Regions from separate parts of the Homo sapiens genome. Here regions 2 and 3 are each linked to region 1. Evidence: promoter capture Hi-C in human tissues and cell types (Jung and others, 2019). All regions are on one chromosome and are shown on one strand. Each heading gives the region's core, a stretch centred on a gene start or on the middle of the fragment in contact. The rest is flanking DNA. Distances are from core to core; before and after follow the strand shown.

Region 1 (4,215 bases), core at 627-3,126:
GCGGGCGCCTGTAATCCCAGCTAATTGGGAGGCTGAGGTGGGAGAATCACTTGAACCTGGGAGGCGGAGGTTGCAATGAGCCAAAAATCACACCACTGCACTCCAGCCTGGGCGACAGATTGAGACTCCGTCTAAAATAAATCAATACGATACAGTACAGTACAATACAATACAATACACCACACCTGACCCCAAGGCTGTTGTTGGATGAGAGACTGTGGATTGTCACATGCACCTTTTACAGTTGAGGCAGAGGCTCAAGGTAGGTCACTGGAATGACGTGCCCCAGGCCACACATTAGCCTCTAACAGCTCTGGGTCCAGTTTTGTTTTTTCCACTCATGCCCCAGACAATCAATAGGCATTGTTTGTAACCATAGCCATGGGGACTGTAGGCTTGCTGTGCAGCAGCCACTGCACTGGACAAGCATTCCATGCACACTCCACCCTCTAGTCCCCACAACAGCCCAACCAGGTAGGGTGGGCACTCGCTCTGCCCTTCCTTCTGCTGAGAGGAAGCCCAGGCTCTGATGAGTAAGAAGGAGCCTTCCATAGCAAAGCCAGGCCTGTGTAGCCCAATGTCCGGGCCATAAGCACTTGGGTGGCTCTGGCTTTGCTTATAGGCTTGTCTGATTCTACAAGCTTGTGTTTTCCCAGGCTCAGCTCAGGCTTGGCTGTGGATCACATAAGGGAAGAAAGTCAAGAAGCTGCTCAGGGGCGGAGCCTGTGGGCAAGTGCACACACAGGGAAGACCCCTGCCCTATCCTGAGTAGGGAACCTTGGAAAGACCCCATGTGTGCTTGGGCATCATTGTGGGGAAGACTGGGCTGTGGAAAAACACTAGCGTTTGTCTGGGAATTTTGGGGAAGGAAAGGGATGGAAAAGCGAAAGGGTGGGAAGGGGCTGGTTTCCTGCTGCTTCTGCTATATAAGAACAGCATCTAGCAGGAAGGTTGTCCCGTGGGCCCATACTAGCCACCTTACAAAGCAGCGTCTGCAGTGGCTGACGCCTGTAATCCCAGCACTTTGGGAGGCTGAGGCCGGTGGATCTACCTGAGGTCAGGAGTTCAAGACCAGCCTGGCCAACATGGTGAAACACCATCTCTACTAATAATACCAAAAAATTAGCAGGGCATGGTGGCGGGCGCCTGTAATCCCAGCTACTCAGGAGGCTGAGGCAGGAGAATCGCTTGAAACTGGGAGGCGGAGGTTGTAGTGAGCCGAGATCGCGCCATTACACTCCAGCCTGGGCAACAGAGCGAAACTCCGTCTCAAAAAGAAGAAAAAAAAGGAAAGAAAAAAGAAAGCGGCGTGCGGGGCAGGGGGTTGGAGCTCTTTCTGGGCTCAGTGTCCCCAGGTGACGGAACACATGCCACGTGCTTGGTGCGCTGCGAGCTCAGCTCCTGGAGCTTCTGTTGCTGCTGTGGCCGCAAGGCCTGGACCCTCGCGGGGAGATTCAGACCCACACTTAGCTCCAGAGCTTGGGGGTTGTCGTTAAGCCCTTCCTTTCCATCAGAGGCTGATGAATCCCCAAACTCCTGGGCTGAGTTCGACTCTCCGACAACTCCTCAGAGGCGGATGTTTGGGGCCACTGGAATAAGCCCAGCACCAGCTGGGGTGTGGACAGCCTCGGGGGCCAGGCCAACTCTCCCGGACGGGTGCGGACGGCAGGGGCGGGGCCGGGCTGTAGGCGGTGGGAGGGGTGGGGCCGGGCGAGAAGGGGCTGGGCGGGCTGCCGTCGGGCGGGGCTGCGCGGGGAAGGGCGGGGCTGCGCGGGGGGCGGGGCTGCGTGGGGGAGGGCGGGGCCGGGCTGTTGTGGGTGGGCGGGGCGCACCGGGGAAAGTTCCGGGAAGGGCGGCAGCCGGCGGGGCCCGGGCGCGGAAGTTGCCGGCGGCCGCGCGGCCTCCCGGGCGGGCCTACAGCCATGTCCCGGGACCCGGGGTCGGGCGGCTGGGAGGAGGCCCCGCGCGCAGCTGCCGCGCTCTGCACCCTGTACCACGAGGCCGGACAGCGGCTGCGCCGCCTGCAGGACCAGCTCGCTGCCCGCGACGCCCTCATCGCTCGCCTCCGCGCCCGCCTGGCCGCGCTGGAGGGGGACGCCGCGCCGTCCCTAGTGGACGCGCTGCTGGAGCAGGTTGCGCGCTTCCGGGAGCAGCTGCGAAGGCAGGAGGGCGGCGCCGCCGAGGCCCAGATGCGCCAGGTACGAGGGCGGGTACCAGAGGAGCTGCGGGAGCGAGAGTGCGTGTGGCGGCCGCCGGGTCCTGGGTGGGTGAGCGAGCGGGCCCCGGGTCCTGAGGGGTTGAGGGGGTACTGGGTCCTGGGGTTGAGTTGGCCTCGGGTCCTGAGGGGTTGGGGGAGCACCAGGTCCTGGGAGTTGAGGGGGTGCCGGGTCCTGGGGGTGAGGGGGCCCCGGCTCCTGAGGGGTTGGGGGAGCATCAGGTCCTGGGGGTTGAGGGGGTGCCGGGTCCTGGGGTTGAGGGACACTAGGTCCTGGGGGTAAGGGGCCGTCGGGTCCTGGGGGTGATAGGGCAACAGCTTCTGGGGGGTGAGGGGACCCTGGGTCCTAGGGGAGAGAGGGGGACCAGGTCCTGAGTGGGATAAGGGGACACCACGGGCTGAGGTGTGCTGGGTCCTGGGGGGTTTGAGGCGTCACCAGGTGCTGGTGGAGGTGAGGGGGCTCTGGGTCCTGCGGGGTGAGGGTGCAAGGTTCTGAAGGGGATAAGCGAATGCTGGATCCTGGGGGGTTGGGAGGGCACTGGGTCCTGGGGGATGGTGAGGAGGCACTGGGTTCTGAGGAGGGGGGTTGGTGCAGTTCTTGGGTTCTGTGTGTGTGTGGTGTATGTTCAGGTGGGCTCTTAGGGGTATTTTGAGGTTCGTGTGTGGGAACACATTCCGAGGGGGGTGTGTGTATGCTGTGTGTATTCTGTGTGTATTGTGTAGTGTGTATGTTCCGGTTGGTTCTTAGGGGTGTTTTGAGGTGTGTGTGCGGGAGACACATTCTGAGGGGTGTGTATGGTGTGTGTGTGTACGCACACATGTGTGTCTTGGGTCCAAGGTCGTGTACTCATATTGTGTTCTAGAGTCCCTTCCAGCCCTCACCCATGCATGTGTCTTTCACTAGTGGCGCTTCAACTCTATGCTGGGAGCAATGGCAAATGCAGCCCGTGTCTGATAAAGGACACAAATCCTAGGCTGGGTGCAGTGGCTCACGCCTGTAATCCCAGTACTTTCGGAGGCAAGGCGGGCAGATTGCCTGAGCCCAGGAGTTCGAGACAAGGCTGAGCAACATGGTGAAACCCTGTCTACAAAAAGTGCAAAAAATTAGCCGGGCATGGTGGCACGTGCCCGTGCTCCCAGCCACTAGGGAGACTTAGGTGGGAGGATCACTTGAGCCTGGGAGGCAGAGGTTGCAGTGAGCCAAGATCGCACCACTGCACTCCAACCTGGGTGACAAAGTGAGACCTTGTCTGAAAAAATTAAATTAAAAATGGACACAAGGGTCCGGACGCGGTGGCTCATGCCTGTAATCCCAGCACTTTGGGAGGCCAAGGCGGCGGATCACGAGGTCAGGAGATTGAGACCATCCTGGCTAACATGGTGAAAACCCATCTCTACTAAAAATACAAAAAATTAGCTGGGCGTGGTGGCGGGCGCCTGTAGTCCCAGCTACTTGGGAGGCGGAGGCAGGAGAATGGCATGAACCCGGGCGGCGGAGCTTGCAGTGAGCCGAGATTGTGCCACTGCACTCCAGCCTGGGCGACAGAGCGAGACTCCGTCTCAAAAACAAACAAAAAAAGACGCAAATCCTGACTTTCTTCTCTTTGTCCTTGTCTATGATGTTTATGTCTGTTTTTTGATGATAAACTATAACACCACAACAGCAGTATAAGTAACAGTTTTTTTGTGCAATAGTATTTGCAAGCATCTGAAACATTCGGGTGAGCTCTGGCATCTATTATTCCATTTGATTCATGGCTATTATCCTAGTTTGCCCAGGAAAGAAACTAAGCCTGCAAAGGCAGTAGTCTGCGAAAGATAGTTTTTGTCTCCAGGGTTGGCCCCACAGCCTGATTTTAGAGAGAAAAAGAAACATGCCCTTTTTAAAAAAGAAAAAAAATTATAAAACAATTTTGAATATCTGAAAAATAAAGAATAAAATAGCCGCTGTAGTCCCACAGTGCAGGGATGACTAGTGTTAATCTCTTGGCATGCCTTCT
Region 2 (4,215 bases), core at 866-3,365, 900 kb after region 1:
ACAGATGGGGCAGTCACCACCTCCTGCCTGGCCTTGCCGGGACACCTGGGACCCCACAGCATTAACGAGAGGAGCACTGTTTCTTGCACCCTCTCCGGGGTCACCCTCCCTAGCCAGCATCGGGCAGGGTCATCTGGTGCTCAGAACCAATGTCCAGACCAGGACTAGGACATACAGTCCTACAGCTGGGCCATAAAAAGTCCTACAGCTGAGCCATAAAAAGTCCTACAGCTGGGCCATAAAAAGTCCAGTTCTTTCTGACCCTGACCAACTGTCCACTCCAGCTCAGGTCCAACCCTGGGTGGGGAGGCAAGGACTATCCTTCTGTATCCCCCTCTTGCCTCCTGGGGGATGGGTGGAAAAGGGGCCCCTTCATGTCTGTTGGCAGCACAGGCCTAGGTTCAGGCCTAGTTGTGCTTAAACTCTGTCTGCATTTGATGTCTGCAGTGCCCACTGACCGGTGTGGACACAGGGACTTACAGACGGCTTCAAAGTGCCCTGCACTAAACAATGCCCCCTTCTCCCACTGAGATGGGGAATTCAAGCCCATCCAGGCCCAGTACCTGGCAGTTCCTGATGGGGAAAACCACCCAGGCAAGCAGGCTACGTTTTCCTGACGGGTGAGGACCGACTGCATGGACAGCAGGGGCAGAGGGGACCCTGGGGAGGGAGCCTCCTAGGGAGATGTGCCATTCAACCAGCCTCTCAAGACTGGGGAGCTGGCTGGCATCAGGCGTTTCACACCCCATGCGCTCCAGGGAACAGAGATGCTGAGTGTGCACTACAAGACCCTCCCCAGGCGGTGCCCTGAGGTGCCGCGGAGAAGCAGGAGGAGGCAGGTTACATCCCTGAACAAGACAGAGGGCAGGGCAAGTGCTGTGCTGGGGATCTCCTAGCTGGAGATCTCCACCAGCTGGGCCCCCAGCGCCGCAGGTCCCCATTTTTCTCCCTGCCTGCTTTCTCTGCCCCAACTCAGGGATCCTCATCTTAGGGAAGGAAGGGGAAGGTGGAGCTCAGAGGTCACGGTCTGCTGGGAGGCTGCACGGTCTCTCTCCCCTGGACTGGTCAGGGCCGGCTATTAAACTGGGCTGGGGGGAGGCTCCTGGGAGACGGCGCATGAGCGGTCCGCGAGCCCAGCCCAGCTCTGGCGGGAATTCTGGAGACTTCGAGCCAGGTCCTTGGCGTCCTGGGCTTCGGCTGTTCCTTCTTGGACTGGGAAGTGGAGCGGACAGGGTATGGCCCAGGTTAGGAAGTCTGGCGCTCTTGCGGCGCGCGGGACCCCAGGGGCTGCTTAGGCCAGAGCGAAACGAGGGGTCCCCCCGCGCCAACGCAGGACCCATATCTACCCCTCCCGCTCAGACGGGAGGACGCGGTGTGCCGGGATGGGGGGCCGCTATGCTGGCTGCGCCGCCACCCGGCCTAGTGCCCTCGCCTCCAGGGGCCGGCATGGCCCTGTCCTTCGGGGCGGGACCCTGCGCTCCCGTCCCCCCAGTGGTGACGGGGACTCCCGACGCCGAGCAGCGCCGTATCTGGGGAGCGCCGCCCGGTACGCAGGGAAGAGGCACTCAGAGCTGCGCGCGCCAGAGTGCAGACCGCCGAGGGCAGAGCCACAGAGCAGGGGGGCCGGCGAGGGACCGCGGCCGAGGGCGTCGAGGGCGCCCCTCCATCCCCAGCGTCCCCTGACTTGCCCTTGGAGCCCCAAGCTCCCAGGAGCCGTTTTCTACTCGTGGGTGCAGGACTTAGTCCCAGAAAAGTTCCGGACACACGCGCTGCTGCCGCCGCCCGGAGACGAAAAGACACTCCCCGCGCAAGCGCGGCCGACTCCCTCAGCTCCTGCGGCCGCCACGCTGCGAGCCCCGGCGTCCACGGTACGACGGGAACCAGGATGCAGCGAGCCCCAGGAGCCAGCCGCCCCGGTGCACGCCGGGACCGGTAGTCCGCGCCTCAGGGTAGTCCGCCGCTCCGGTGCACGCCGGGATCGGTAGTCCGCACCCCAGCGTGCAGGCCGTCCCGGTGCACGCCGGAACCGGTAGTCCGCGGTGGCGCGGTCCGCCCCTCACCTGGCCAGCGGCGGGCGCTGAGGGGCCCAATGGGAGCCGCGGCCTGGCCGCCCCGCCCCGCGCCTCCGGACGTCTGTGCCGGGACAAGGCCGCCGCTGGTGCCGGGTCCTTGAGGAGAGCGCCTCCCGTCCGAGGCCAGCCGCCTCTGTCAGCCGTCCGCGCGGGCCGGGTCTGAAGCGCCGCCGGGACGGCGAAGAGCCGCGGCCGCCGCGGAGAAGGAGGCAGCGCAGGAGGCCGGAGCGGCCGCCGCGCCCGAGCACATGGCGTCCATCTTACTGAGGAGCTGCCGCGGCCGGGCGCCCGCCCGCCTCCCGCCGCCGCCTCGGTACACCGTCCCGCGGGGTAAGCGGCGGGCACCCCAGGGCGGGGCCGGCTCCCGGCTGGTGGGTCGGGAGCGCGGACGACCCGCGGGTTCGGGCTGGTTGTCACGGCGATGCGGGGAGCCCGGTGGTCCCGGCCTCCGGAGCCCCTGCGGGACCGTGGGGCCCCGGGTCTCGTCGCGGGCTGGGCCGCCAGCGCCGGGCGGAGCCGCTGGGCCTCTGCCGTGTGTTGTGACCTTAGGCGGCCGGGTCCCCCGGGTCACTGCCTCAGAGACAGTGGGAAAATTCTGAAGGGCTGGGCAGCCCTGGCGCGCCCTGCGCGAGTAAGCTTGGTGGAACGTGTCCACGCACGAGGACGGCCGTGCCCTTTGGTCACGTTTGGGGTCCCGGAGACGAGACTGGGTGGGCAGGGCAGACACCGGCGAGCAGGACCTGCTGGGCTGCAGGAGCCTTCCTGGTCCGTCACTGATGAGGTGATGCCAGCACCTACAAACCCCTGTGGTGTGATTAGGCCGCGACCGGCACCCGGGGAACACGGGGACTCCGGAGCCGCTGAGGGTCCTCAGGGTGCGTGGCTTTAGCCCCCCTAGCCTCAGGTGCTGTCTGGAGTGAATGCTGTCCCAGGGTGTGCCCACCTCCTCTCTCTCTCTAATTAACCAACTTATTTGAGTCTATGTCCTTATTTGTAAAATTGGAATAAACATAAAACTTGCTAAGAGGGACTCAAGTAAAATAATTAGTGCAGTGGTGCGATCATACTCACTGCACCTCAAACTCCTGGGCTCAAGCTATCCTTCTGCCTCAGCCTCCCAAGTTGTTAGTTGTGCCACACAACACCCAGCTAATTTTTTTTTTTGTAGTTTTTTTGTAGAGACAGGGTCTTGGTATGTTGCCCAGCCTGGTCTTGAACTCCAAGGCTCAACTGATCCTCCTGCTTTGGCCTCCCAAAGTGCTGGGATTACAGGAGCCACCATGCCCAGGCACCCAGCTTCAATATTCTTGTCTCTGTTCCCCACCCCCAAAGAGATAGATTGAAGTTGCCCTGAATGTATCCTCCCAATTCTTGTTTTTTTTTGTTTGTTTGTTTGTTTGTTTTTAAAGACAGAGTCTCAATCTGTTGCTCAGGCTAGAGTGCAGTGGTGTGATCTTGGCTCACTGCAACCTCCACCTCCTGGGTTCAAGTGATTCTCTTACCTCAGCCTGCCGAGTTGCTGGAATTATAGGCACCCGCCATCACGACTGGCTAATTTTTGTATTTTTAGTAGAGACTGTTTTCTCCGTCTTGGCCAGGCGGGTCTCGAACTCCTGACCTCAGGTGATCCACCCACCTCGGCCTCCCAAAGTGCTGGGATTACAGGCGTGAGCCACCGCGCCCGGCCCCCAATTCTTGTAATTTTTTTTTTTTTTTTTTGAAATGGAGTCTCGCTCTGTCATCCAGGCTGGAGTGCAGTGGCATGATCTCGGCTCACTGCAACCTCTGCCTTCCAGGTTCAAGCGATTCTCCTGCCTCAGCCTCCTGAGTAGCTGGGATTACAGGCGCACACCCTCATGCCTGGCTAATTTTTGTATTTTTAGTAGAGATGGGGTTTCACCATGTTGGTCAGGCCGGTCTTGAACTCCTGACCTCGTGATCCACCCACCTCAGCCTCCCAAAGTGCTGGGATTACAGGCGTGAGCCACCTCGCCTGGCCAATTCTTGTAATTTTTACAATAATGGCTGGTTAGCCACTGAAACTTTTGGAGTGGTGAGAGGATGTTGAGTGGTGGAACTGCACAGTCTGAAGGTGGAGCTCAGCATGTGGTCTTTCCAGTTGCTGTGTTAGATGTTAGAGCTC
Region 3 (4,215 bases), core at 535-3,034, 540 kb after region 1:
TGGAATGAGAAAGATTGGAAGATCAGGGAGTTCCTGGAGTAAGGCATGTGGAGGGATCTGTGGGAACAGTCACGAAGTACTTCCCACCCAAGAACATTCACCATGGGGACACACCAAACCACCACATTAATAGGATGACTTGGCCAGTTGACATCTAGCCTCTGCCATCTGCTGCGCCCATGCTGGCACACTGGGCTCTCTCATGGAGTAATCATGGGGTGGGTAGATGCTGTGCATGGCCCATAGCATGGGGCTCCCCCTCACCAGAGCTGACCTAGCTATTTCTCTGCAGAACATCCAATCTTCCAGCAACAGAGACCAAACACTGAGTCCCCAGTTGTACCTTCCTTGGAGGGAAACAGTCATTTGACAACACTGAACCCCTTGTGCCCTAGAAGGTACAGTGATTCATCTTGGCCAGAACCAACACACGTTACAGGCATGGGTTTGCCTTTCCCATTCTCATGGATTCAGTCAGCTCCATCACCCAAGTTTCACAGAGTGTTTGATCCACAGGATCCTGCGCTCAGCCAAGGAACTGCAGCAGTGGGCACATGAGAGTAGGACTCACTGTCTCCCTCACAGCCACACACCAAGAAGCTGCCAGCCTGATGGAGCAGCAGGATGGTCTGTGGAAGGCACAGCTCACCTCGTGTGCAGCCTGGAGGTGACACCTGTGATGAAGCAGTCACCTCCAGGGTGCAGTCTGCACTGCAAATCACTAACCAGTACGTGGTGCAGTGTCCTTGGTTTGTGTAATAAATGGGTCTGGGAACCAAAAGGTGAAAGTCATCACTCCCAGTGACCCACTTAGAAATCTGTATTTCTCCCTCACACTCCTCTGGGTTCTTAAGGTTTAAAGGTCTTGACTCTCAAAGGGAAAACCTTTCCAGCAGGGGCACAGGAAGAACGCCATTTAATTTCCAGCTGTGGCTGCTGTCTGGTCATTTTGAGCTCCTTGTGCCAAGAGACTGGCTGGCAAGGAATGTAATTTCCATCTTCTGGGGTGGCTGACCGTGGGCGTCAGGTGGAGGTAGAGCTGTTACTACATAACTGGGGGCAGGGAAGCACCCAGGTGATGTGATTGGCCACCTCATGGTCCCCTGCCCAAATTTGATGGCAAATGCTGGGGCTATGGCCAGAGAAGGGCATGGTGGCCAGGGGCTTACCTCTCAGGGATGAGGGTTTGGGTTACCTGATCAGGTAAGCTAAGCCACCTAGAGCAGCAGAGGAGATAGGCAAGGGTGAGGAGTTAGCATGGGCAGTAGAGGAGGGAGATGAATGTAATTTGCAACCTTGAGGCCAGCTGCAGCAAGATGTAGTTCATCCCAGTGCCTTCCTTTTATAAATTTCCCAAGGAAAAGGCCCGCCAGAATCCTACAGGAGCTGCTCCCAGAACGTCCCTGAAGCAAGTGGCTATGAGCAGTGCAGTGTGGAGTGTAGCAAGCACTGTGGTTCCCATATGCCCCTTTAGTACTGAAGCACTGTCCCTGCTCCTGGGACAGCCCCTCCCTGATTGCCTGGCTGCAAAGAACTTCTTTGCCCAAGGGCCCACCCCTTCCCCAGGAGTGACTGGTCCAGTGACTAGTTTGTGCAGGGGTATAAAAGCCCAGCTGTCTTGACCCATTGGGAGACACATCTGTAGGACCATGCTCAGCTCAGGGCAGGCCTTTGAGTGACTGCATCTTAGCCATTGTCTTCCTTGGTTGGATTCTGCTTCCTTCACTCTCCAATCACCTTTTCAAATGCAAACCTTCATCACAGAGGTGGTCTCCCAGGGTACCCGAGTGTTATGTGCGTAACATCTTCGTGTGCATAAGCGGGGAGATTTGGTCATTATTTTTAAAAATGAGGTCATCATCTTCAGTCAACCACTATAGCTGGAGTCATTTTCCCCCCTGCAATCTATGTTTTAACAAGGTCATTCTTTTTAGTGGCTATGTATTTCATGATGTGGATATTATGTAATTTATTCCTCAGTTTTCTTCTGATTGGTATCTACTTTATTTTCAGTCCTTTGCCATAATGAGCAATACTGCTATAAACATTTTGGTTTAAACCTGTTTACTGTTGCATATATTTCTGTGAAACAGCCAAGAGTGAGATTATTTGGTTAGAGATTATTTGGTTAGATGATGGATATTATTTCCTATCTGTTTTTGTTAAGGCAAGAGCACTCTGTCTCTCATATATATATGGCTGAGGTATATACATATATATGTATATGTATATACATATATATGTATATGTATGTGTATATGTGTGTGTGTATATATATAAAACAGCACACATATCCTAAGTTTAGTTTAGGTCAAAATTTCACAAACCCAAACCCAGTTCAGGAAACATAACTAGCATTCCCAGAGGCCCATCTTGAGCTCCCTGTGGGTCACTTTCTCCACCCAACTCCCAAAGTGATGTATGCATTATTAATTTTAATAAGTCTTGACAGTTTGCCTTCTAGAAAGAGTCTATTTACATTTTTACCAGCAATACATGAGACTACCTCTTCCCCTGTGTTTCCAGTTATAGTTAATTTGCGTTTCCCTGAGTATTGTATTTGTTTCCTCTTTGGGTTTTCTGTTTTGTGTATTGCCTCTTCCTATTCTTTGCTCATTTTTCTGTTGAATTGTTTGTCTTATCTTGTAAATGTATGAGAACTTGTTGTATAATATAGCAGTTAACCCTTTGTCATTTTTGTTCCAAATAGTTTTCCCAATGCATTTATTTTCTTTTTGATGTGGTGCTAGTTATACCAGCCCTATTAATTAATCTATCCTTTTCTATTGAATTGAAATACTATCTTTGTTGTATATAAAGTCTTGGGATCAGTCTCTGGGTTGTCTGTTCTCTTCTAGAGGTCTTTTCTCTCTCTCTTTTTTAAGCTTACTTTTTTTTTTCCCAGGACAGAGTCTTGCCCTGTAACCCAGGCTGGAGTGCAGTGGCGCAATCTCGGCTCACTGCAACCTCCACCTCCCGGGTTCAAGCAATTCTCCTGCCTCAGCCTCCCAAGTAGATGGGATTGCAGGTGCTTGCCACCACACCTGGCTAATTTTTGTATTTTTAGTAGAGGTGGGGTTTCACCATTTTGGCCAAGCTGGTCTCGAGCTCCTGACCTGAGGTGATCCACCCACCTCAGCCTCCCAAAGTGCTGGGATCACAGGCGTGAGTCACCACGCCCGGCCTAAGCTTACATTTCTTGTCTTTTCGTACTTTGAAATTATTTTATTAAATTAAAATATCCCTGTAGGGTCTCCAATTGGAATTGCCTTAAATTTAGAAGAATTAAACATTTTGTGATCTATATCCTAATGCTGTGTCTTTTCATTTGTACAGATCTTTTTTTATGCCATTTAATAAGATTTTACATTTTCATCATTGAGGGCCTTGTATCTTTTTTGTTATATTTATCCTAAGTATAATGTTTTTATATTGTAAGTGAAATATTTTCCCCTATTTGCATTTCAGGTTGTTATTGTTCCTGCAGAGGAAATGTATGTCACAGTGGTTAAGAGCACAGACTCCCAAATCCTATTGCCTGGGATTGGATCCTGGTTCTGTCACTTACTGTTCAGCCCAGGCTTATTGAAATTAAATCAAAATCTAAATTAGAAGTTTGTTTTAATGATGTTTTACTGAACCTTCAATTGTTCCACTGCAGTATTCAGTCTAAGAATTTCCCCAAACCTTTAATCCTTTTAAGGTTTCTATAAAAGTTGACCTTGGGTTTTTAGAGTCATGTATTCAAATGCAAATGTCAAATAATGATTTTTAATAAATGTTTTATGATTATATAGAGTTATCTTCAGTTAACTTGAAGGTACTTTACATAAATATTTATTGCAATGGTACTAAGCATTTTACTTGTGAATTTTATTACATTGTTTTAAGTAAGTTAATAATGAATAAATAAGCATGATTATAGAGGTTATTTCAGTGTTTAGTTAACTGTGTGACTTAGATATCAATGTTTCTTTAATGCCCCATGTTTCTTTTTTGTTGTTTTTAAAAGCTATGGAAGTGATAAACAAGTCCAGTGTTAAGTATTCAGTACAACTTGAAGACAGGAAGACTCAATCACCAGAAAAAAAGGTAAATCATTGCACATATGAGTAATTTTAAATAGATAACTTATTTGTTCAATAGATGCTTATTAAGTGTTCTACTGTGTGCTAGGCACTGTAGATACCACACCTTAAAAAAAAAAAAAGAGGC

What was found. Contacts are between HindIII fragments. The study calls those that stand out against the background at their distance.
Region 2: the fragment with the promoter of LETM1 here is called in contact with the fragment with the promoter of TNIP2 in region 1 in 1 of the 25 tissues and cell types used here (spleen).
Region 3: a fragment that was not itself captured here is called in contact with the fragment with the promoter of TNIP2 in region 1 in 2 of the 25 tissues and cell types used here (lymphoblastoid cells and mesenchymal stem cells).

Annotation. Positions count from the first base shown.
Region 1 is chr4:2,753,997-2,758,211 of GRCh38, reverse strand. It overlaps TNIP2 (TNFAIP3 interacting protein 2), which reads left to right and starts at 1,876. Exons shown (of 6, transcript NM_024309.4): 1 at 1,876-2,198. The coding sequence starts at 1,923. RefSeq lists silencers at 1,414-1,553, 1,734-2,253, 2,274-2,333. The HindIII fragment of the contact is 11,459 bases long and covers 1-4,215 here.
Region 2 is chr4:1,854,056-1,858,270 of GRCh38, reverse strand. It overlaps LETM1 (leucine zipper and EF-hand containing transmembrane protein 1), which reads left to right and starts at 2,115. Exons shown (of 14, transcript NM_012318.3): 1 at 2,115-2,402. The coding sequence starts at 2,321. RefSeq lists enhancers at 234-1,029, 1,699-1,768, 2,406-2,907 and silencers at 1,299-1,518, 1,919-2,478, 2,489-2,678, 3,473-3,649. The HindIII fragment of the contact is 14,961 bases long and covers 1-4,215 here.
Region 3 is chr4:2,212,924-2,217,138 of GRCh38, reverse strand. It overlaps POLN (DNA polymerase nu), which reads left to right. Exons shown (of 26, transcript NM_181808.4): 4 at 4,013-4,092. Among named protein-coding and RNA genes, the nearest start is that of HAUS3, 27 kb to the left of the region's middle. RefSeq lists a silencer at 1,363-1,657. The HindIII fragment of the contact is 4,456 bases long and covers 1-4,012 here.